Linked DNA regions of Homo sapiens: all the other regions are linked to region 3. The links are contacts of gene promoters, found by promoter capture Hi-C in human tissues and cell types (Jung and others, 2019). All regions are on one chromosome and are shown on one strand. Each heading gives the region's core, a stretch centred on a gene start or on the middle of the fragment in contact. The rest is flanking DNA. Distances are from core to core; before and after follow the strand shown. Region 1 overlaps STARD9 (StAR related lipid transfer domain containing 9). Region 2 overlaps HAUS2 (HAUS augmin like complex subunit 2). Region 3 holds the start of LCMT2 (leucine carboxyl methyltransferase 2).

Evidence for each region. The method cuts DNA at HindIII sites, captures the fragments that hold promoters and counts their contacts. A contact is called where the count stands out against the background at its distance.
Region 1: a fragment that was not itself captured here is called in contact with the fragment with the promoter of LCMT2 in region 3 in 1 of the 25 tissues and cell types used here (lymphoblastoid cells).
Region 2: a contact is called between a fragment that was not itself captured here and the fragment with the promoter of LCMT2 in region 3, in 1 of the 25 tissues and cell types used here (mesenchymal stem cells).

What each region holds. Positions count from the first base shown.
Region 1 is chr15:42,720,693-42,723,588 of GRCh38, reverse strand. STARD9 (StAR related lipid transfer domain containing 9) reads right to left here. Exons shown (of 33, transcript NM_020759.3): 33 at 2,591-2,896. CDAN1 (codanin 1) reads left to right here. Exons shown (of 28, transcript NM_138477.4): 28 at 1-45. Among named protein-coding and RNA genes, the nearest start is that of CDAN1, 15 kb to the left of the region's middle. The HindIII fragment of the contact is 4,414 bases long and covers 1-2,896 here.
Region 2 is chr15:42,568,335-42,571,034 of GRCh38, reverse strand. HAUS2 (HAUS augmin like complex subunit 2) reads right to left here. Exons shown (of 6, transcript NM_018097.3): 6 at 1,041-2,700. Among named protein-coding and RNA genes, the nearest start is that of STARD9, 5.9 kb to the left of the region's middle. The HindIII fragment of the contact is 5,134 bases long and covers 1-2,700 here.
Region 3 is chr15:43,329,262-43,331,961 of GRCh38, reverse strand. It overlaps LCMT2 (leucine carboxyl methyltransferase 2), which reads left to right and starts at 1,389. Exons shown (of 1, transcript NM_014793.5): 1 at 1,389-2,700. The coding sequence starts at 1,473. It overlaps MAPDA (N6-Methyl-AMP deaminase), which reads right to left and starts at 1,290. Exons shown (of 13, transcript NM_001324366.2): 1 at 1,103-1,290; 2 at 1-62. RefSeq lists enhancers at 1,249-1,298, 531-1,481. The HindIII fragment of the contact is 18,030 bases long and covers 1-2,700 here.

The DNA of each region.
Region 1 (2,896 bases), core at 82-2,581, 610 kb after region 3:
TTTTTAGAATAAACTGGTTTTCTTTAACAAGGGCTTGATGTCTAATCATTGTCACCTGTCTTCTCCCTTTAGAAGGCTGCAGTCTCGGGTGGGCTGTAGGTGGAGCGCTGTAATTGTGGCTTTGCTCTGTGCATTACAAGGTGAGCTACCTTGGCTCTTAGAAATGCCTGTATATTCCACTCTAGAGGGCTAGTCTCTGGTGGCAATATCTATTAATTTAATTTATCGCCAGTGGTACTGACTTCTCCTGTGTAACTCGCTTTATTTGTGGGAGAAAGGGTTAGGATAATGTAGTTTCCACACACAAGATATTCCCTACTGAACCACATGGTGGGGCAGTGTTCTTGTTAAGCTTGTTAAGGCTAAGGTGTTTGTTTGATTGATTTGGCTTGGAGTTTCTCAGAGCAAAAGCATTGCTTCTCGATTACAGCTGTATCAAGCTCTATAAATGAGCCACTGATTTTGACAGGTTCACACCTGTAATCCCAGTGCTTTGGGAAGCCGAGAGAGAGGACTACTTGAGTCCAGGAGTTAGAGGTTACAGTGAACTATGATTGTGCCACTGCACTCCAGCCTGAGCAAGAGTGAGACCCCCATCTCTTTGAGGGGAAAAAAAAAAAGCACTACTGTGATCATGTGCATTAATAACCAGGAGTTGGACTGATAATATAATCCTCAGGAGGACCTAAAGGGGTCCACTTGTGTGACCATGGTAGAGCCAGGAAATCCCATCAACCTAGAAAGTAAAAAATGGGAGTTTTCCTCAGTCACCACCTTGTGATCATACTTCTCCCAAACACCATGCCTTTCCCTTCTCCTCAGCTCAGCTACTCCTTTAACAAGTTTCTATATCTGAACCATTTTCCCCTGATCTCTTCATTTTCAAAGGCCTTTATCTTTATCCTTTAAATCCAATTTGTTCTGAATGCCTGGGAACCAAAAAAGCTTTAAGGAATGCTTTCTCGGCCGGACACAGTGGCTCACACCTGTAATCCCAGCACTTTGGGAGGTCAAGGCGGGAGGATCACTTGTGCTCAGGAGTTTGAACCAGCCGGGGCAACATGGGGAAGCCTCATCTTTAAAAAATACAAAATTGGTGAGGAGTGGTGGTCCATGCCTGTGGTCATAGCTACTTGGGAGGCTGAGGTCAGAGGATCACTTGAGCCCAGGAGGTCAAGGCTACAGTGAGCCATGATCACACCACTGCAGTCCAGCCTGGGCTACAGAGCGATACCCTGTCTGTCTCAAAAAAAAAAAAAAAGCTTTCTATGCCCAGAGACCAGCACTGGGTGTGATTAAACCATAGCACCGCCCCCACCCAGGAAGCTTAGGGTCAGCGTCAGGCTTGTGGCTACTCCTTGACTTGTTCCAGAGGACCCAGCTGAGGTGTGTGACATGGAATGGGCAGGAGAGGAAAACCTGAAACCCCTAAGGATGCTGAGACTGAAGGGCTGGGCCATAACCCAGGCCTGGCTTAAGGCCCACTGAGTTAAAAACAAGTTCTTGGGAATCTGAATGGAAATTTAACATGTTCCCGATGAAGGAAACTTCCTGCTGGCCTGTGTGAGCCTTAAAGGCTACTCTAAGGATTATGGAGACAGGCAGCTAGTGGGTCAGTGAACTAGATTCTGTATGTCTGCTCTCTAATTGTCAAAGCCAGCTGTTTATAAAATGTGGTCCCCAGACCAGCAAACTTCAGGGTCCCCTGGGACTTCTTGTTAACACAAATTCTCTGGTCCTTCTCCGGGGCTACCAAACCAGTAACTTGGGGTAGGGCCCATCCTGGGGCATAAGAAAGCGTTCAGGTGATTCTGATGTATGCGAAAGTATGACAACCACGCCATGAATCCAAAATCTGACTCCACTTTTGCTTTTTGCTACAAGATCCCTCTCAATCTTTCGCTTGCTGATTCAGTCAGGTCTGGTGTTGCTTTTTTTTTTTTTTTTTTTTGAGACAGAGTCTCACTCTGTTGCCCAGGCTGGAGTGCAGTGACACAATCTCGGCTCGGCTCACTGAAACCTCCCCCTCCCAGGTTCAAGCAATTCTTGTGCCTCAGCCTCCCAAGTAGCTGGGATTACAGGCACATGCCACCACGCCTGGCTAATTTTTTGTATTTTTAGTAGAGACAGGTTTCACCATGTTGGCCAGGCTGGTCTCAAACTCCTGACCTCAGGTGATCCACCCGCCTCAGCCTCCCAACGTGCTGGGATGACAGGCATGAGCCACCATGCCCGGCTGGCTTCTCTATTAAGGCGGGCAGGGTCACCTCCTGGTTATCCCCTGACTCAGATTCCCATAGGTGGCTCTGCCTCAGAAGCCCCAGGGCACTGTGGTCACTGTTAGGTGTGGCAGTGACTGTTCTGGATTCTCCCCTTTAGTTCTTACTTGGGCTATAGTTGAGCAACTTACCTGGTTGCTGTTTACCCTGCAAAGCAATGCCAAGTTCATGGGAAACTGTACATACATGTAAACTGAATCTTTGAAACAGCTATGAGTGGGTATTGCCAGGGTGATCTCCAGCTAATCTGCCAAGCTCGAATCACACACTTAGGCTATCCCGGTGCAGGATTTCATCTACTCTTCACTAGATAAAGTACACAGAGGACTTTTAATTTTAAAATGTTCTTTTTTGGTCAGTAGTCTTAGTAAGAGATTTATATGAAAAGAGGTAGGAGTATATAAATAGGGTGTTAAATATATCATGTCACCAAAAAATTTACCCGAGAAATAGAAGTTTAAAAGCAATTTTAAAAAACCTTCAATCAACAATATATAAATAACTTAATCTGAGGTAAGAGGGAAAAATGCCCTGCAAACACTTTAGAAAAACACATCTCTGCCACACTACAGAAATAGACCTTTACCACATCTTCTGAATCCCCAGTTCCCTCCATC
Region 2 (2,700 bases), core at 20-2,519, 760 kb after region 3:
ACTCCAGCCTGGTGACAGTGAGACCCTGTCTCAAAAAAAAAAAAAAAATTGCATATGCACTTCAAGCTTATATTGTTCAAGGGTCTAATGCATAATTTTTTTAGTAAACTCAATTAGTGGATTCCCCAAATTGTGAGATAAATCTTTTATGTAAATTCATGTGTTTTACAGATATGTGAAGAAATCCCACAATACACTAATTACAGTCTTATTAAAATCTCAACTCTATTATAGATTTTGCATGTCAAGAAATCTTTTAGGTTCTGCTATTCCTCAGACTGTTCCTGACTTCATTGAGGGTTTCAGAGGATAAATCAGGGGTCAGACTGGTAGAGTCACATAGAGAAAGAAAGAAAATAAGAAAAATGCTAGGAAAACCAGGCAGCATCTCAATTCCTCCAGAATGGTCTTCACAAACTGGCATCACTGTTATGCTGGCAATAAATTTGCAAATCTCACACACCTCTTCTAGTGTAAGTAGGAAACACAGACATTCAGGCTAGGTGCAAGGGGCTAACACCTGTAATCCCAGCACTTTGGGAGGCCAAGATTGCTTGAACCCAGGAGTTCAAGACCAGCCTGGGCAACACGACGAGACCTCATCTCAACAAAAAAATTTAAAAGTTAGCTGGGTGTGGTGGGGCACAGTTGTAGTCCCAGCTACTTGGGAGGCTGAGGTGGAAGGATCCATTGAGCCCAGGAGGTTCAGAGTGCAGTGGGCTATGATTGTGCCACTGCACTCCAGCCTGGGTGAGAGCAAGACCATCTAAAAAACAAGAACAACAACAACAACAAAAAAAGGCATGCAGAGCTAATTTTTTTTTAATATCCACACATCTAAAAGTTGAATAATTAAAGAAAAATTAATCAGCACTGATTGACTCTGGAAGAGTATTAAATTAGCTTTCTCTTTGAAGTAGACCTCAGGCTTAACTTACCTCAAGCTCTTTTGATTCTGAGAGCCTATATGCCTATACTGTATAAGTTAAACAGTGCATCAGTCCTTTCTATCACTTTAAATTCAGACTAGGACTAAAAAATTTTAGTTAGAAATTACAAGTTTATTTTTATATTTTGAAAAAGGCATAATAGAAAACAAAAATAAACAACCAGGCATATCAATATTTGTGACATACACATACACACAAAAATGAATATAGGAAATAACACGAAGAAAAAGCATAGTATGTTTTGAAACCAACGTGGGGTATGAACAGATTTTTGATGAAATACAACTAAAGGTTTTAAGTGTCTATGTAATGTTCGAGATATTACGATCACTCTTATCCTACTAGCAAAAATTAGCAAACTAGGCTTTAAAACATGATTCCTGTTGTTTTAGCAGGATTTATTTTGGTAATGATCCTGCTTCCTTATAAACAACTACTTATCATTGTTGAAGTCTTCTTGTGTTAAGGAGTACAATGAGGCCAGGCGCAGTGGCTAACACCTGTACTCCCAGCACTTTCGGAGGCTGAGGCGGGAGGGTCGTTTGAACCCAGGAGTTCAAGACCAGCCTCAACAACATGGCAAAACTCTGTCTCTACAGAAAATACAAAAATTAGCCAGGCGTGGTGGCGCGTGCCTATAGTCCCAGCTACTTGGGAGGCTGAGGTGGGAGGATCACTTGAGCCTGAGAGGTCAAGGCTGCAGTGAGGTCAAGATTGGGCCACACCACACTCTCAGCAACCTGGGTGACAGAGTGAGATCCTGTCTTTAAAAAAAAAAAAAAAAAAAGGAAAGAAAAGAACAAAACAAAAAACAAAACTGATGTACATGTTTTAAAGCAAAATAGAACCCCAAGTCTAAAAGTAAAATAAGCCAAGGTTAGTTACAATACTGATTAAAAAGAGTATATCCTGAGGCAGTTGTTAGTATATCACTCTCTATTATATGCACAATAACCTCTGATAGGTAAAATATCTGAGCATTTTGCAAGGTAAACCTCCAAAGTTATACCACAGTGTGCCTTTTTCTTTGCTGTTTCTTCTTTGCCTATTCCTACAGCTACCAGTAAACACTTAGGAACTGCTTTGTATGCCAGGGTCTCCAAGACTACCTCCAGGTTCCATGATTTGCTAGGAGAATTCACAAGACTCAGCATATCATCACACAGCTATGATTTATTACAGCAAAAGCATATGAAGCAAAACAGCAAAGAGAAAAGGTACAGAGGCAAAGTCTGGGGGAAACCAGGTATAAGCTTCCAGAGTCCTCTAACAGTGGAGTCACACATATCTGTTGTTTCATTCCACCAGCAACTGAATTGTGACAACATGTGAGAAATGTTGTTTACCAGGGAAACTTGTTAGAGATACAGTGCCCAGGGTTTTTACTGGGGGCTGGTCACGTAGGTACCTTCTACCTACCATGTACCAAAATTCTAGACTCCCAGGAAGAAAGCAGGTTTTCAGCACAAACCACAGGTTAGCTACCATGAACGACTCTTTTCAGTGAGTGGAGCCCTCCTGTTAAGGTTTAAATATGTCCCCCAAAGTTCAAGTGTTGGAAATTTAATTGACATTGTAAAAGTGTTATGAGACCTTTAAAAAGTAATTAGGTAAGGAGGGCTTTGCCCTCATTAATGAATTAGTGCTGCTATCTTGGGAGTGGGCTCATGATAAAAGGCTAAGTTTAGACCCATATATCTTTCTCATGCTCACTTGCCATGTGGTGCCTTCTGCCATGGCAAGACCCTCA
Region 3 (2,700 bases), core at 140-2,639:
TCCCTCTCCACTAGCTGGTTTCCCTCACAGGACCAACACGCATGTGCAGTATTTGCTTCCACCTGAAAACAAAACAAAAGACTCTTTTATCCCACAATATTCTTTAGCCACTGCCCTGACCCTTTTTTCCTTCTGAGTTAAGCTCCTCGAAAGTATAATAATTTAGACTGGATACCTCCTTTAACTCACCTCCTATTCACTGAAACATGGATTCTGCCCTTATTGCTCCACAGAAACTGCTCTCCCTAAGGCCATTAATGAGCTTTTAAACACCAAATCTAAATGTCACTTTTCAATTACCGAATCTTTATCCTGATCCAAACCTTTTCTTTCTTATTTCATTTTGTTCCACAAGAAAACATTGGAAAATACGAAACTTTTTCTTGACTCCAGTATCCAAATCTGCTGGACTCCAAAACTCACACTCTTAACCATTATGCAGTACCACCTGTAGTTAACCATAAAGTTATCTGATTTCCTTTTCTATTTCAGCCAGTCAGTCACCAAATCCCAGTGAACAAATGATAAATTTCCTAAATGTCTCTGGAAGTGGTTTCCTATGGATGACTCCCAGACACCCAATTTAGAAACTTTATGATTATTCTGAAGTCTAACCTGGATTTACTCCTTAAAAACAAAGCTCAGAACATATCACAGGGAACAATCACCTCTCTTCAGTGACTCCCCTTTCTGGGGACATATTCAACACTACTTTAAAATCCACAGAATTCTCCAAGGCGGTGTGATGAGAAAGAGAGGCTGAGTGGTTTATTCACCGTCAGTCTAACATAGGGCTGGGAATACAAGGGAATCAACAGTCTACTATCTGTGGGGAAACGTCTTCTTGTTAGGTGTCTATAAATTATTTGTAAAGGTCGGTTTCTTCAGTTTGCACCCTGGCCTTAGTGACTTGTTTTCAAGTTTTAAATGGGGTTCTCTTTTGCAACTGTGAGAGCATTAAATAAATCAGCAACTATTAGCACCCAAGGAAGCTAACTAATCCTTGCCTACTGAAGGTCCGTGGTGCCGACCCTTCTTGGCTCCTACCAGACCCTTCCTTGGCGGTCCAAGGAAGCCAAGTCGTCAGTCCCCACAGACTCACCTCTTAGAGATTTCTCAACTACAAGGACTTAGGCAAGGTTTCCCTTTTGACTGGAAGGCTTGTAGAAACGTGACAACCCGCCTTCCCTAACACTCATGTCACAGCGGTAGCGGACCGTATTCTGGGACAAATGGAACTCACGACATTCCAAAGAAAGGTCAGCCGCAAGCGAACTTAGCACTGGCTACACCCTCCTCAATTCTGGTTGGCGAGATGCGCTCTTCCCGGAAGTGACGCACAAGTGCCGGCGGAAGGGGAAGTCCAGGAGCATGGGTGGTTTTTTTCCCCCTACCGAGGTCCGTGAGGTGTGTGCTAACCAAGGGGCGGCTCACAACCGTGACAGACTGCCATTCCTGAGTCTCTTCTGGCCATGGGCCCCCGGAGCCGTGAGCGTCGGGCAGGCGCGGTACAGAACACCAACGACAGCAGCGCCCTCAGCAAGCGTTCCCTGGCCGCGCGCGGGTACGTGCAGGACCCCTTTGCCGCGTTGCTGGTTCCGGGCGCGGCGCGCCGCGCACCGCTCATTCACCGAGGCTACTACGTCCGCGCACGCGCCGTGAGGCACTGCGTGCGCGCTTTTTTGGAGCAGATTGGCGCGCCCCAGGCCGCGCTTCGCGCGCAGATCTTGTCTCTCGGCGCTGGCTTCGACTCGCTCTATTTTCGCTTAAAAACCGCGGGCCGCCTGGCCCGGGCTGCAGTCTGGGAGGTGGATTTTCCGGACGTGGCGCGGCGCAAAGCAGAAAGGATTGGAGAGACGCCAGAGCTGTGCGCGTTAACCGGGCCTTTCGAGAGGGGGGAGCCCGCGTCCGCGCTGTGCTTTGAGAGCGCAGACTACTGCATCCTGGGTCTGGACTTGCGGCAGCTCCAGCGAGTGGAGGAGGCCCTGGGCGCCGCGGGGCTCGACGCAGCCTCACCCACTCTGCTCCTGGCCGAGGCGGTGCTGACCTACCTCGAGCCGGAGAGTGCCGCGGCCCTCATCGCCTGGGCAGCCCAGCGTTTTCCTAATGCCCTTTTCGTGGTCTATGAGCAGATGAGGCCTCAAGACGCCTTTGGCCAGTTCATGCTGCAACATTTTCGGCAGCTAAACTCCCCCCTGCATGGCCTGGAGCGTTTTCCTGACGTGGAGGCGCAGCGGCGCCGCTTCCTTCAAGCTGGCTGGACCGCCTGCGGTGCCGTGGACATGAATGAATTCTATCACTGCTTTCTTCCCGCAGAAGAACGCCGGCGGGTGGAAAATATTGAACCCTTTGACGAATTTGAGGAGTGGCATCTGAAGTGCGCCCATTATTTCATTCTGGCAGCTTCTAGGGGAGACACCCTCTCCCACACCCTAGTGTTTCCATCCTCAGAGGCATTTCCTCGCGTAAATCCTGCTTCGCCTTCAGGGGTATTCCCTGCCAGCGTAGTCAGTAGCGAGGGCCAGGTCCCAAACCTGAAGAGATATGGCCACGCCTCTGTCTTCTTGAGCCCAGACGTTATTCTCAGTGCAGGAGGATTTGGAGAGCAGGAGGGGCGGCACTGCCGAGTGAGCCAGTTTCACTTGCTCTCAAGAGATTGTGACTCTGAATGGAAAGGCAGCCAAATAGGCAGTTGTGGGA